2 separate regions of the Homo sapiens genome follow, and region 1 is linked to region 2. The links are contacts of gene promoters, found by promoter capture Hi-C in blood cells and fetal thymus (Javierre and others, 2016). All regions are on one chromosome and are shown on one strand. The core of a region is centred on a gene start or on the middle of the fragment in contact, and the rest is flanking DNA. Distances in the headings are between cores, read along the strand shown. Region 1 overlaps LINC01531 (long intergenic non-protein coding RNA 1531). Region 2 holds the start of HAMP (hepcidin antimicrobial peptide).

The links. The method cuts DNA at HindIII sites, captures the fragments that hold promoters and counts their contacts. A CHiCAGO score of 5 or more calls a contact.
Region 1: a contact is called between a fragment that was not itself captured here and the fragment with the promoter of HAMP in region 2, in 2 of 17 cell types (monocytes and total B cells). The highest score is 6.4, in monocytes.

What each region holds. Positions count from the first base shown.
Region 1 is chr19:35,408,260-35,414,846 of GRCh38, forward strand. LINC01531 (long intergenic non-protein coding RNA 1531) reads left to right here. Exons shown (of 5, transcript NR_040046.1): 2 at 1-892; 3 at 1,027-1,213; 4 at 2,903-3,023. Among named protein-coding and RNA genes, the nearest start is that of LINC01531, 5.9 kb to the left of the region's middle. The HindIII fragment of the contact is 289 bases long and covers 4,392-4,680 here.
Region 2 is chr19:35,281,201-35,287,688 of GRCh38, forward strand. HAMP (hepcidin antimicrobial peptide) reads left to right here and starts at 1,328. Exons shown (of 3, transcript NM_021175.4): 1 at 1,328-1,467; 2 at 3,589-3,648; 3 at 3,738-3,943. The coding sequence starts at 1,378. The coding sequence ends at 3,842. RefSeq lists an enhancer at 1,190-1,699. The HindIII fragment of the contact is 2,484 bases long and covers 110-2,593 here.

The DNA of each region.
Region 1 (6,587 bases), core at 3,286-5,785, 130 kb after region 2:
GGCTAATTTTTGTATTTTTAGTAGAGACGAGGTTTCAACCCCTACTCAGGCTGGTGTCAAACTCCTGACCGCAAGTGATCTGCCCACCTTGGCCTCCCAAAGTGTTGCAATTACAGGCGTGAGCCACCATGCCCAGCCTAACCCCTTGATTTTCTGTTTCTCTTCCTCCACCGTGCGCAAAGCCTTTGACAGAGGGCCACGGAGGTGGCAGCACGGCGGGGGTCTCACTGTCTGGGTGGTGGTGAAAGCTCTGGAGAGCCAGCTGCAGAGAGAAGATGTGGATCTTAGGGACGGCCAATGTCACCTTCACAGGAGATTAGAGGCGCCAGCTTGGGGTAACCTTTTGGGGAAGGAGGGCTCAAAAAGAGGAACAATGAAACAGAACTAAGGTGAGTTCTCCTGTGCCCAGTTTCAGAGGTCAAGGAGAGTAGTAGATAGCTCAAACCCAACTCAGCCATTGAGTGAGTGTTTTCATTTTGTTCCTTGGGGTCTATGATATTTTCTATTTTCTTTTCTTTCCTTTTGTTTTGGTTTGTTTGTTTGTTTGGTTGGTTGGTTGGTTGGTTGGTTTTAGAGACAGGGTTTCCCTCTGTCACCCAGGCTGGAATGCAGTAGTGTGATCACATCACACTGCAGCTTCTAACTCATGGGTTCAAGCCATCCTCCTGCCTCAGCCTCCTGAGTAGCTGGGACTCCAGGTGCACGCCACCATGGCCGGCTAATTGTTTATTTTTTATAGAGACAGGGTTTCACTATGTTGGCCAGGATGTTCAACAACTTCTGCCTTCAAGCGATCTTCCCTCCTGGGCCTCCCCAAGTGCTGAGTTTACAAGCATCAGCCACCACACCCAGCCTATGACATTTTCTTCATTATGGCTGGTACTGCCTCATGGTAAGCCACAAGCCTTTTTATCTTGTAATATCAGAGTCTTGGAATTCTTTATCTTCCCTACTCTATATCTAGAAGACAGTAGCACTGACTTATCTGCTGCAGAGCTCTTAATTCTATCCTTGGCCCCGATTCAGAAAAGGGGGTTCCTCATGCTGGATCTGAACAACCCAGCACAGGCAAGTCTGGGGAGCAAGGCAGGAGCCTGCATGTGGACTCAAAGGACCGGCACCCGAAACAAAGCAGTGGCTGGCACAGGTGGACAAACCAGGCAAGAAAAGCAACTGTCCTTCGGAGCAGAGTCCACGTGATGGGAAGAAACAGGTCATGATACTTTTGAGTGGTTACATCCTACTGTGTTTGTGCCTTCTTTTTTCCTTTCTCAGTCTTGCCAAGAGACCCATTAATTTGTCTTTTCAGAAAACCAAGATCCTCTCCAGCATTTATCTTTGTTTTCTTGTTGCATTGATTTCTAATCTTATCTTTATTGTTTCCTTCCTTTTACTTTATTGAGTCTTCTCTGTTGCTCCTTTTCTAACATGTTAACTTGGATGCTCGTTCATTTTAGCCTTTCTTCTTTGCTAATGTAAGCATTTAGTGTGTTGGATAGATTTCCCTCTAAGAACAGCTTTAGTGGGATGTCACAAGTTTTGATTTGCAGCATTCTCATTATTTTGAGTTCTAAATAGGCTCCAAATTCCATGGGATTTTTTTATTTGACTCTTGACTTTGGAAATGTACCTTAATTTTCAAACACAGATGTTTCCCCCCTTTATCCTTTTGTTATTCATTTCTAACTACAGAGTATTGTTTCAATGGTATCAGTTCTTTGAAATTTGCTGAGAATTGTTTTTTGGCTTAGAATATAAACAGTATTCTAGTATTCCAGTAATGAAAAGAAGATAGATTCTGTAATTGTTGGGTGCTATGTTCTCTGTATATACCTTAGATCAAACTTGTTAATTTATGATGTTCAAATCTTCATAACCTTTATATACATTTTCATCTATTTAATCTATCAGTTATATGAAGAGGTGTGTTACATGCTCCTTCTATCATGGTAAATTTGCCTATTTCTCCTTGTAGTTCTGTCTCCCTGGTGAATTGAAACTTTCAAAATTCTTTCTGCCTTAACATTGATTTTGTCTGATATTAACAGAGCCACATCAACTTGGTTTTTGCTTATTATTTGCCAGTCCATCTCTGTCCATCCTTCTACATTCAACCTTGCTATATCTTTATGTTTTAAATGTGCTTTTCCTAAGCAGTGTATAGAGTGGTTGGATTTTTTTGTAATCTGGTCTGACAACTGGACAATATTTGTCTTTTAACTGTACCATTTTGTCCATTTATAGTTATAAAATAATAATTTCCAATATATTTGAATTTATCTCTGTCATCTTATTTTAAATACTTTTAGTGAAGTATGTGCACATATATTGAAATATACATGCATACCGTGTGTATTAGTCCATTCTCACGCTGCTAGTAAAGACATACCCGAGACTGGGTAATTTACAAAGAAGAGAGGTTTAATTGACTCACAGTTCCACGGGGCTGGGCAAGCCTCAGAAAACATAGAATCATGGTGGAAGGGAAAGCAAACAGGTCCTTCTTCACATGGCAGCAGCAAGAAGTGCAGAGCAAAATGGGAGAAGCCATCTGATAAAACCATTAGATCTCGTGAGAACTCACTCACTATCAGGAGAACAGCATGAGGGTAACCCACCCCATGATTCAATTACCTCCCACCTGGTTCCTCCCATGACACTTGGGATTATGGGAACTGCAATTCAAGATGAGATTTAGGTGGGGACACAGCCAAACCATATCACCATGCATGGCCAAATAATAAGTGTACAGGCCAAATAAACTATCACAAATATCACAGAGTGAACACACCTATTTAAGAAAAAGCAAAAAGTCTACCATATTATTTTGTGCTTTTTATTTCCCTCATCTTTTATTTTATTTTATTTTATTTTATTTTATTCTATTTTATTTTATTTTCAGACACAGTCTCACTCTGTTGCCCAGGCTGAAGTCAACGGCATGATCTCAGCTCACTGCAACCTCCACCTCCTGGGTTCAAGCAATTCTCGTGCCTCAGCCTCCCAAGTAGCTTGGATTACAGGTGTGTGCCACTATGCCTGGCTAATTTTGGCATTTTTATTAAAGACGGGGTTTCACCATGTTGACCAAGCTGGTCTTGAACTGCTGACCTTAGGTGATCCAACCACCTCGGCCTCCCAAAGTGCTGGTATTACAGGTGTGAGCCACCTTGCCAAGCCATCCCTCACCTTTTAATATTTCTTTTTTTCTTCTCTCTAGCCTTCTTTTGAGATTCAGTTCGTTTATTTCTTTTCTTTCTCATTTCATTTATTCCTCCACTGACTTGGAAACTGTATGTTCTGTTTCCATTATTTAGTGGTTATTTTAAACACTGTAAGATGGTAGGAGTTCCTCAATGAGTTACTCCCTCCCTCCCTTCCTTCTTCCCTTTAATACCACACATCAAGGAAAACCCAACCCAAGTAGCTTCGAACTATGTGAATCTAGGGCAGCAGTTTTCAAAGCACTGTCTGTGAGGTCAAAACTATTCATAATGCTATTAAAATGCTGATTGCTCTCTTCACCTTCATTATCTCACAAATAATGTGCACAGTGGAGGTTTTGAGAGCTACGTGACGTGATATCATGACGGAATGAATGCAGACCAGATAGGAAAATACAGCTGTCTTCTATTAAGCCAGGCATTAAAGAGATCTGCAAAAATGTAAAACAATGCCACTGTCACGAATTTTTTGAAGATATAGTTGTTTTTTCTAGGAACGTGTCATTTATATTAACATGTAATGGTTTTATGGTTATTATTATTATAAGATAAGTTAATACACATTTTTAAATTTTTCTGTTTTAACTTTGTTTTTTTTTTGTTTTTTTTTTTTGTTTTTTTTGATACGCAGTTTCACTCTTGTTGCCAAGGCTGGAGTACAGTGGTGTGATCTCGGCTCACCGCAACCTCTGCCTCCTGGCTTCAAGCGATTCTCCTGCCTCAGCCTCCCAAGTAGCTGAGATTACAGGCACAAGCCACCATGCCCGGCTAATTTTTGTATTTTTAGTAGAGACAGGGTTTCACCATGTTGGTCAGGCTGGTCTCGCACTCCTGACCTCATGATCTGCCCACCTCAGTCTCCCAAGGTCCTAGGATTATAGATATGAGCCACCACGCCTGGCAGGAATTTTCATTTTTGCTTTTCTTTCCTTTTTTTTCTTTTTTCTTTTTTTTTTCGAGACAGTGTCTCACTCTGCCACCCAGGGTGAGTGCAGTGGCATGAACACAACTCACTGCAGCCTCGTCTTCCCAGGCTCAAGCAACCCTCCCACCTCAGCCTCCCAAGTAGCTGGAACTACAGGTGCACGCCACCATGCTCAGCTAATTCTTGTATTTTTTGTGGAGATGGGGTTTTGCCATGTTGCCCGGGTTGGTCTCAAACTCCTAAGCTTAAAGCAATCCACCTGCCTCAGCCTCCCAAAGTGTTGGGATTAGAGGGGTGAGCCACCACACCCATCCCTTCAGTAATTTTCAAGAGTATAAACCGACCTTGAGATCCACAAGTTTGAGAATTGCTGACCTGGTGAGATGACAGACAGGATTACTCTGCTAAGTGCAATTGTGCACATATAAAACCTTCTGCTACCTGATGTGTCTTTAATGATTCGAAATTTCATAAAGTCTAATGCCACTTAACCTCTCAAAGTGAGTTTAAAGTTTGCCTGATAAAATGCAAAGCTTGTTGAGATATTAAATATGATACTTAACAATCAGAACTATTCCATGAGGAGATAAAGAAGTAACAAAGCCGGCTCAGATGGATGGGATGTAATTGCGCCGCACAGACCTGTATTCACCATGTTATGTTAGTTCCTGTTCTAAAGATGCTTTTTTTTTTTTTTTTTTTTTTTTTTTGAGACAGAGTCTCGCTCTGTAACCCAGACTGCTGCAGTGCAGTGGCATGAGCTTGGCTCACTGCAACCTCCGCCTCCCAGGCTCAAGCAATTCTTATGCCTCAGCTTCCCGAGTTGCTGGGATTACAGGCATGCGCCACCACACCTGGCAAATGTTTGTATTTTTAGTAGAGATGGGGTTTCACCATGTTGGCCAGGCTGGTCTTGAACTCCTGGCCTCAAGTGATTCATCAACCTCAGCCTCTCAAAGTGCTAGAATTACAGGTTTGAGCCACCGCGCCTGGCCTAAGGATTGTTTAAATTGGAGTTTTTCTTCTTGTTTTATGGGGAAGGATTACTTCATCTACAATTAGGTGGAATATTAACCCAAACTATATGTAGGATTTCCAATCTTAGAGGCTATAGGAACTGGGGGAGAAGGAAAGCATAATACTAATTATATTTGTCCTATGTCATCCTAGGGAAAGTGCATATTTAATTCCTGTCAGCAAAGATTAAAGAAAGATTTTCAGGGCAAAAGTTATAAACAGGCTTAGTGTGTTTTATTTTGAACGGGGGAATTCACAAAGCCTTTGTGAAAGCCTCAATTTTACTGTTAGACTACTTGATAGCACCTAGTTAATATAAGCTAGGGCGATTCAACTAGTTCCATTGCACCTCCCGGTAAATAAATGGTTCCTGAGGCATTGTGTTAAGCGAGGAATGGAAGTTTGAAGGTTACCGGCAAGGCTCCTTCAGCCCTCTCCGGTTTTCAGGTTAATGGTGGGGAGAGTGAGTGTCCACCAGAAAGGGACTGTGATGTGACGTTAGGTCACTTGATTTCTGTAAACTTATGGGAGACCTTTCTCCTAAAGATGGGCTCAAGATGCCACCATTTACAATGTTACTCTCAATGACCTTGGGGAAGTCCTGCTCCTAGGGGTGGGACACAGTGATAAGAGGGAGGGGTGTGCCGGGCATGGTGGCTCATGCCTGTAATTCCAGCACTTTGGGAGGCTGAGGCAGGCAGATCACCTGAGGCCAGGAGTTCAAGACCAGCCTGGCCAACATGGCAAAACCCCATCTCTACTAACAATATAAAAATTAGCTGGGCGTGGTGGTGTGCAGCTGTAATCCCAGCTACTTGAGAGGCTGAGACAGGAGAATCACTTGAATCCAAGAGGCAGAGGCTGTAGTGAGCCAAAATCATGCCATTGCACTCCAACCTGGGCAACAAGAGCAGACACTCCGTCTAAAGCAAACAACAACCAAAAAAAAAAAAAAAAAACACAAGAGGAAGGGGTGGAAGAGTGTACTGATTGTTGGACCCTGAGGATTGCAATTTTATCATAACATTCTCTACAGTCTCTTTTCAAAAATGAACCAGCAATCAGAGATGGCACCGATTGGTTTGGCCTTCTTAGCAACATCTCTCCCTTGTCCTCTGCCATGTGGTTTGGTGGAGCTGACTTTACCCCCAGCTCCTGCTCCAGGGGCAGGTGTGAAACCAGGACCCTGCTCATCTACAGTTCATCCTCTGACCACAGTGATGGTTCACACTTGGGTGCATGACTCAATCCAGACCAATGAAAGATGAACCCAGGCTGGGCATGGTGGCTCACATCTGTAATCCCAGCACATGGGAAGGCTGAGGCAGGCGAATCAGTTGAGGTCAGGAGTTTGAGACCAGCCAGGCTAACTTGGCGAAACCCTGTCTCTACTAAAAATACAAAAATGAGCTGGGCGTGGT
Region 2 (6,488 bases), core at 78-2,577:
CTGTGCCCTGCTGTGTTTTAGGGGAGATGGGGAAACCTGGTGGGTAAGAGCAAAAGCCCTGGAGTCAGGCTGTCCAGGCTAGAATCTCAGCTCTGCCTCTGGCTGAGCAAGCTTGGGCCATGCCCTGATCTCTGCCTTCAGTGCCTTTTCTGTAAAGTGAAGGAAATGAGTGTCCGACGGGGAGGAGGTTCCTAAAAGGGAGCAGGGTCTGGGGAGCCCAGGCCTCTGGGGTTGGGTGACTGAGAAGGCAGCCCCTGAATACAGAGCAGAGCTGAAGGTGGGGCAGTAAGTGCTGCTGGGAGAACAGGCAGCACAGGCTGAGTTGGTGCAGAAGTGAGTCAACATATGTGCCATCGTATAAAATGTACTCATCGGACTGTAGATGTTAGCTATTACTATTACTGCTATTTTATGTTTTATAGACAGGGTCTCACTCTGTCACCCAGGCTGGAGTGCAGTCACACAATCATAGCTCACTGCAACCTCAGCCTCCTGGGCTTAAGCGATCTGCCTCAGCCTCCCAAGTAGCTGGGACTACAGATGTGTGCCACCACGCCTGGCTAAATTTGTTTAAAATTTTTTTTGTAGAGATGGGGTCTCCCTATGTTGCCCAGGCTAGTCTTGAACTTCTGGGCTCAAGCGACCCTCCTGCCTTGGCCTCCCAAATTGCTGGGATTACAGGCATAAGCCACTGTGCTGGGCCATATTACTGCTGTCATTTATGGCCAAAAGTTTGCTCAAACATTTTCCAGTTACCAGAGCCACATCTCAAGGGTCTGACACTGGGAAAACACCACGTGCGGATCGGGCACACGCTGATGCTTGCCCTGCTCAGGGCTATCTAGTGTTCCCTGCCAGAACCTATGCACGTGTGGTGAGAGCTTAAAGCAATGGATGCTTCCCCCAACATGCCAGACACTCCTGAGGAGCCTGGCGGCTGCTGGCCATGCCCCGTGTGCATGTAGGCGATGGGGAAGTGAGTGGAGGAGAGCGGAACCTTGATTCTGCTCATCAAACTGCTTAACCGCTGAAGCAAAAGGGGGAACTTTTTTCCCGATCAGCAGAATGACATCGTGATGGGGAAAGGGCTCCCCAGATGGCTGGTGAGCAGTGTGTGTCTGTGACCCCGTCTGCCCCACCCCCTGAACACACCTCTGCCGGCTGAGGGTGACACAACCCTGTTCCCTGTCGCTCTGTTCCCGCTTATCTCTCCCGCCTTTTCGGCGCCACCACCTTCTTGGAAATGAGACAGAGCAAAGGGGAGGGGGCTCAGACCACCGCCTCCCCTGGCAGGCCCCATAAAAGCGACTGTCACTCGGTCCCAGACACCAGAGCAAGCTCAAGACCCAGCAGTGGGACAGCCAGACAGACGGCACGATGGCACTGAGCTCCCAGATCTGGGCCGCTTGCCTCCTGCTCCTCCTCCTCCTCGCCAGCCTGACCAGTGGCTCTGTTTTCCCACAACAGGTGAGAGCCCAGTGGCCTGGGTCCTTAGCAGGGCAGCAGGGATGGGAGAGCCAGGCCTCAGCCTAGGGCACTGGAGACACCCGAGCACTGAGCAGAGCTCAGGACGTCTCAGGAGTACTGGCAGCTGAACAGGAACCAGGACAGGCACGGTGGCTCATGCCTGTAATCCCAGCACTTTGGGAGGTTGAGGCAGGCAGCCCACTTGAGGTCAGTTTGAGACCAGCCTGGCCAACATGGTAAAACCCCGTCTCTACTAAAAATACAAAAGTTAGCCAGGCTTGGTGGCAGGTGCCTGTAATCCCAGCTACTCGGGAGACTGAGGCAGGAGAATTGCTTGAACCCGCAAGGTGGAGGTTGCACAGTGAGCTGAGATTGCACCACTGCACTCCAGCCTGGCAACAGAGCAAGACTCCATCTCCAAAAAAGAACAGAAATCAATGAAGCACCGAGTGACAGGGACTGGAAGGTCCTAATTCCATGGGTATTTACGGAACCCCTACGCCGTGTGGAGTCTTATTCTAGACAGTGGGGACGAGGCCATGAACAAGGTAGATGAGAGAGGAGATTTCTCCATCCTGGTCAGGGAATTTGTTAAAGACTGATGAAAACATGAATAAATAATTGTGTCTAGTACATTCTATTCGTGAATCTCATAACAGACAGTGGTAGAGTGACCGTGACCCATTCGCCACACAGTAGAGTCACTTTTTTGGTTTGTTTTTTAGAGACAGGGTCTTCCTCTGTTGCTGAGGCTGGAGTGCAGTGGTGCAGTCATAGTTCACTGCAGCCTCAACCTCCTGTGCTCAAGCAATCCTCCCACCTCAGCGTCCCAAGTAGCTGGGACAGCAGGCACATGCCACGGGTTGGGGGACCACAGGCATGGTCAAGGGGCTGGCAGTCAAGCAAGTGTTTCATGAGAAAGTGACAGTTGACCTTCGTCTTGGAGGGTGAGAGATGGAGGCAGCAAAGACCTAAGGAGAGGACAAGCCAGCATAGCCCAGGGTCAGGCTGAACAAGAGGAGATGGTGGGACTTGGGGATAAGGCTGAGGGGTGGGCAGTCCCTAAGTCTTGTGGGCAACCATGCAGACACTGATTTTTCCTTGGAATAAAGAGGAAGCCCCCATAAGCTTTTTTTTTTTTTTCTGAGATAGGGTCTCGCTCTGTCGTTCAGGCTGGTGTGCAGTGGCATCATCTGGGCTCACTGCAACCTCCGCCTCCCGGGTTCAAGCAATTCTCCTGCCTCAGCTTCCCGAGCAGCTGGGATTACAGGCGGCTGCCACCACGCCCGGCTAATTTTTGTTTTTTTAGTAGAGACAGGGTTTCACCATGTTGGCCAGACTGGTCTTGAACTCCTGACCTCAGGTGATTCTCCCACCTCGGCTTCCCAAAGTGCTGGGATTACAGGCGTGAGCCACTGCGCCCAGCCTCCTGTAGGTTTTTAAAATGGAGAAAACCACAATCTCACTGGCCATGTTTTAAAAAACTTAATCTGCCAGTCAGGCACCATGGCTCACACCTGTAATCCCAGAGTTTTGGGAGGCCAAGGTAGGAAGATCAGTTGAGCCCAGGAGTTCAAGACCAGCTTGGGCAACACAACCAGACCCCACCTCTACAAAAAATTAAAAAATTAGCCGGGTGTGGTGGCGTGCACCTGCTGTCCCAGCTACTCGGGAAGCTGAGGCGGGAGCATCGCTTGAGCACAGGAGGTCAAGGCTGCAGGGAGCTATGACTGTGCCACTGCACTCTGGCCTGGGCAACAGAGGAAGACTCTGTCTAAAAAACAAACAAAAAAAGTGACTCTGCTGTGTGGCAAATGGATTGAGGGGCAAGAATGCAGGGAGGTGTGTTAGGAGGCTGGCACTGGCATCCAGGCAGGGGAAGGTGATATCCCAAAGAAGAGTAGCAGCTGTGGAAAGAGGAGGAGGCGGATCTGGGAGGTTTTTTTTTTTAGGAAAAGCCGCCCATGGGAAGGTGAGCAGAAGCAAGAAAGCAAGGCCCCTCCTAAGAGTCCATTTGAGCTCTGGGTTTAAACCACTTGGAGAGGAGCAGGTTGCCGGGAGCCAGTCTCAGAGGTCCACTGGGCCCCCTGCCATCCTCTGCACCCCCTTCTGCTTTCACAGACGGGACAACTTGCAGAGCTGCAACCCCAGGACAGAGCTGGAGCCAGGGCCAGCTGGATGGTGAGCGCAACAGTGATGCCTTTCCTAGCCCCCTGCTCCCTCCCCATGCTAAGGCCGGTTCCCTGCTCACATTCCCTTCCTTCCCACAGCCCATGTTCCAGAGGCGAAGGAGGCGAGACACCCACTTCCCCATCTGCATTTTCTGCTGCGGCTGCTGTCATCGATCAAAGTGTGGGATGTGCTGCAAGACGTAGAACCTACCTGCCCTGCCCCCGTCCCCTCCCTTCCTTATTTATTCCTGCTGCCCCAGAACATAGGTCTTGGAATAAAATGGCTGGTTCTTTTGTTTTCCAAACCAGAGTGTCTGTTGTCCTTTCTCTCTGCCGAGTGTCTGTGCTAAGAGCTTGTCCTGACCCTGCCTTGCAAGCACCAGTGCTTGGTGGGTCATGTGGGGCTGGTGTGTCCTGGAGGTTGCCAGGAAAGTTGGTGAAGAAAATTTGTTTCTGTTCTCCCCCTTCATGTTGCAATAATAGGGGATGAAAGTTAATGTTTCCTCTCCTTGAGATCTTCCTAAAACAGCTGTAGAAATCAGTGCCTGTAAGGCAAGCTTGTCCAACCTGGAGGCCACATGCAGCCCTGGATGGCTTTGAATGCACCCAACACAAATTTGTAGTTTCTTAAGGCATTATGAGATTTTTCCGCAATTTTTTTTTTTCTCATCAGCTGTCATTAGTGTTAGTGTGTTTTATGTGTGGCCCAAGACAATTCTTCCAGTGTGGCCCAGGGAAGCCAAAACATTGGACACTGCTATAAAGGTTCTCAAAGTAAGATCCAGGGACTCCTTTTGTAGGGCTCCTGAAGGTGGAAACTACTAAGACTTTTTTTTTCCTTTTTTTTTCCTTTTTTTTCTTTCTTTTTTTTTTTTTTTTGAGGCAGAGTCTCTCTGTGTCACCCAGGCTGGAGGGCAGTGGCATGATCTTGGCTCACTGCAACCTCCACCTCCCAGGTTCAAGCGATTCCCCTGCCTCAGCCTCCTGAATAGCTGGGACTACAGGCACGTGCCACCACACCTGGCTAATTTTTGTATTTTTAGTAGAGGTGGGGTTTTGCCATGTTGTCCAGGCTGGTCTCGAACTCCTGACCTCAAGTGATCCACCCGTCTCAGTCTCCCAAAGTGCTGAGATTACAGGTGTGAGCCACCACGCCCGGCCTACAAAGATGTTTATTTGCCTTTTTCACCCTGGTTCTCTCATGAGTATACAATGGAGTTTCCAGGAGGCTCTGCGACACCTGTTGGCATCATCACCAGATGGCTAATGGATTGTGTGCTGGTGTATCTCACGCTTTTAAATGTCCCAGTTTCTAGCCCGGTGCAGTTGCACCATCCCTGCTACTCGGGAGGCTGAGGCAGGAGGATAATTTAAGACTGGGAGTTCCAGAAGAAGACCTGGTGTCAAAAAAAAAAAAAATGGGGCAACGAAAATGAGAGCAATACAGCTTTCAAGAATGGGAGGGGCCAGGGGTGGTGATTCATGCCTACAGCACTTTGGGTGGCTGAGGCAGGCAGATCACTTGAGGTCAGGAGTTCAAGACCAGCCTGGCCAACATGGTGAAACACCGTCTCTACAAAAATTAGCCAGGCATGGTGGCATGTGCCTGTAATCCCAGCTAGTCAGGAGGCTGAGTCAGGAGAATCACTTGAACCCTGGAGGTGGAGGTTACAGTGAGCCAAGACAACACTGCTGCACTCCAGCCTGGGCGACGGAGTGAGACCCTGTCTCCAGAAAAAAAAAAAAAGAAGAATGGGCAGGAACTCAGTTCCTTGTGGAGGTGAACTATATTCCTATATGTTTCACGTGCAAAGTGTGTCCTTCCTGAGAGAATACAACTTAAGATGCTCCTGTGTAACAATCCCCCATACCTCGCTCATCTGCTATACCTGGATGGCCTCTGAAGGCCATGGGCCTCACACCTTTTGGTCTTAGGACCCCTTTACATTCTGAGAAATTATTGAGGACTCCAAAAAGCTCTTGATAAAGTGGGCTATATCTCTAGTTGCCTGATGTATTAGAAACTGAAACTGGGAAAATATTTTTACTGTTTATTTATTTATTTTTGAGACAGGGTCTCACTCTGTCGCCCAGGCTGGAGTGCAGTGGCGCGATCTCAGCTCACTGCAAACTCCACCTCCCAGTTTCAAGCGGTTCTCCTGCCTTGGCCTCCTGAGTAGCTGGAACTACAGGCGCCCGCCACCATGCCTGGCTAATTTTCATATTTTTAGTAGAGACAGGGTTTCACCGTGTTGGCCAAGCTGGTCTTAAACGCCTAACCTCAAGTGATCCACCCGCCTCAGCCACTCAAAATGCTGTGATTACAGGTGGGCCTGGCCTGCCCACATTTGATAGAAACAGACATAGGGGCTGTTATTTCACTGTCTTCTTAGCTCCCAGGAAGCAACAGCTCTCACTTGATGGTAAAGGGCATTGGTCATTCGGCCTCAATGTTGGGTGTGGGCAGGGAGTGGGAAGGCCCAGGCTGGGCGGGAGAGGGCTCCAAGACACGGCTGCCACACCCAAGGCAGGTAAACCTGACTAGAACTTCTGATTTTGTCAAGAGAAGGTGGGAATTCCTATTTTTATTAGAGATTTCTTGCTTTGACAGTATTGGCAACTGAGCAAAGCAATTTGTCTTTTAACATCAACATTCTGTGAGCCAAACGAAGCCCAGCTGGGCGCCAGATCAGTCTGGGGCACCATCAATGTCTGCCTTCGCTTTGGAATCCACAGAGGCTTGTCCTCTGGGAGGGGAGGTTTCCTGAATGAAAACTGAAGGGATAGGGAGAGGGGAGTTGTGGTGAGCTTGGCCTCTTATTAGCTGTAACATCTTGCATGCATCTTCTT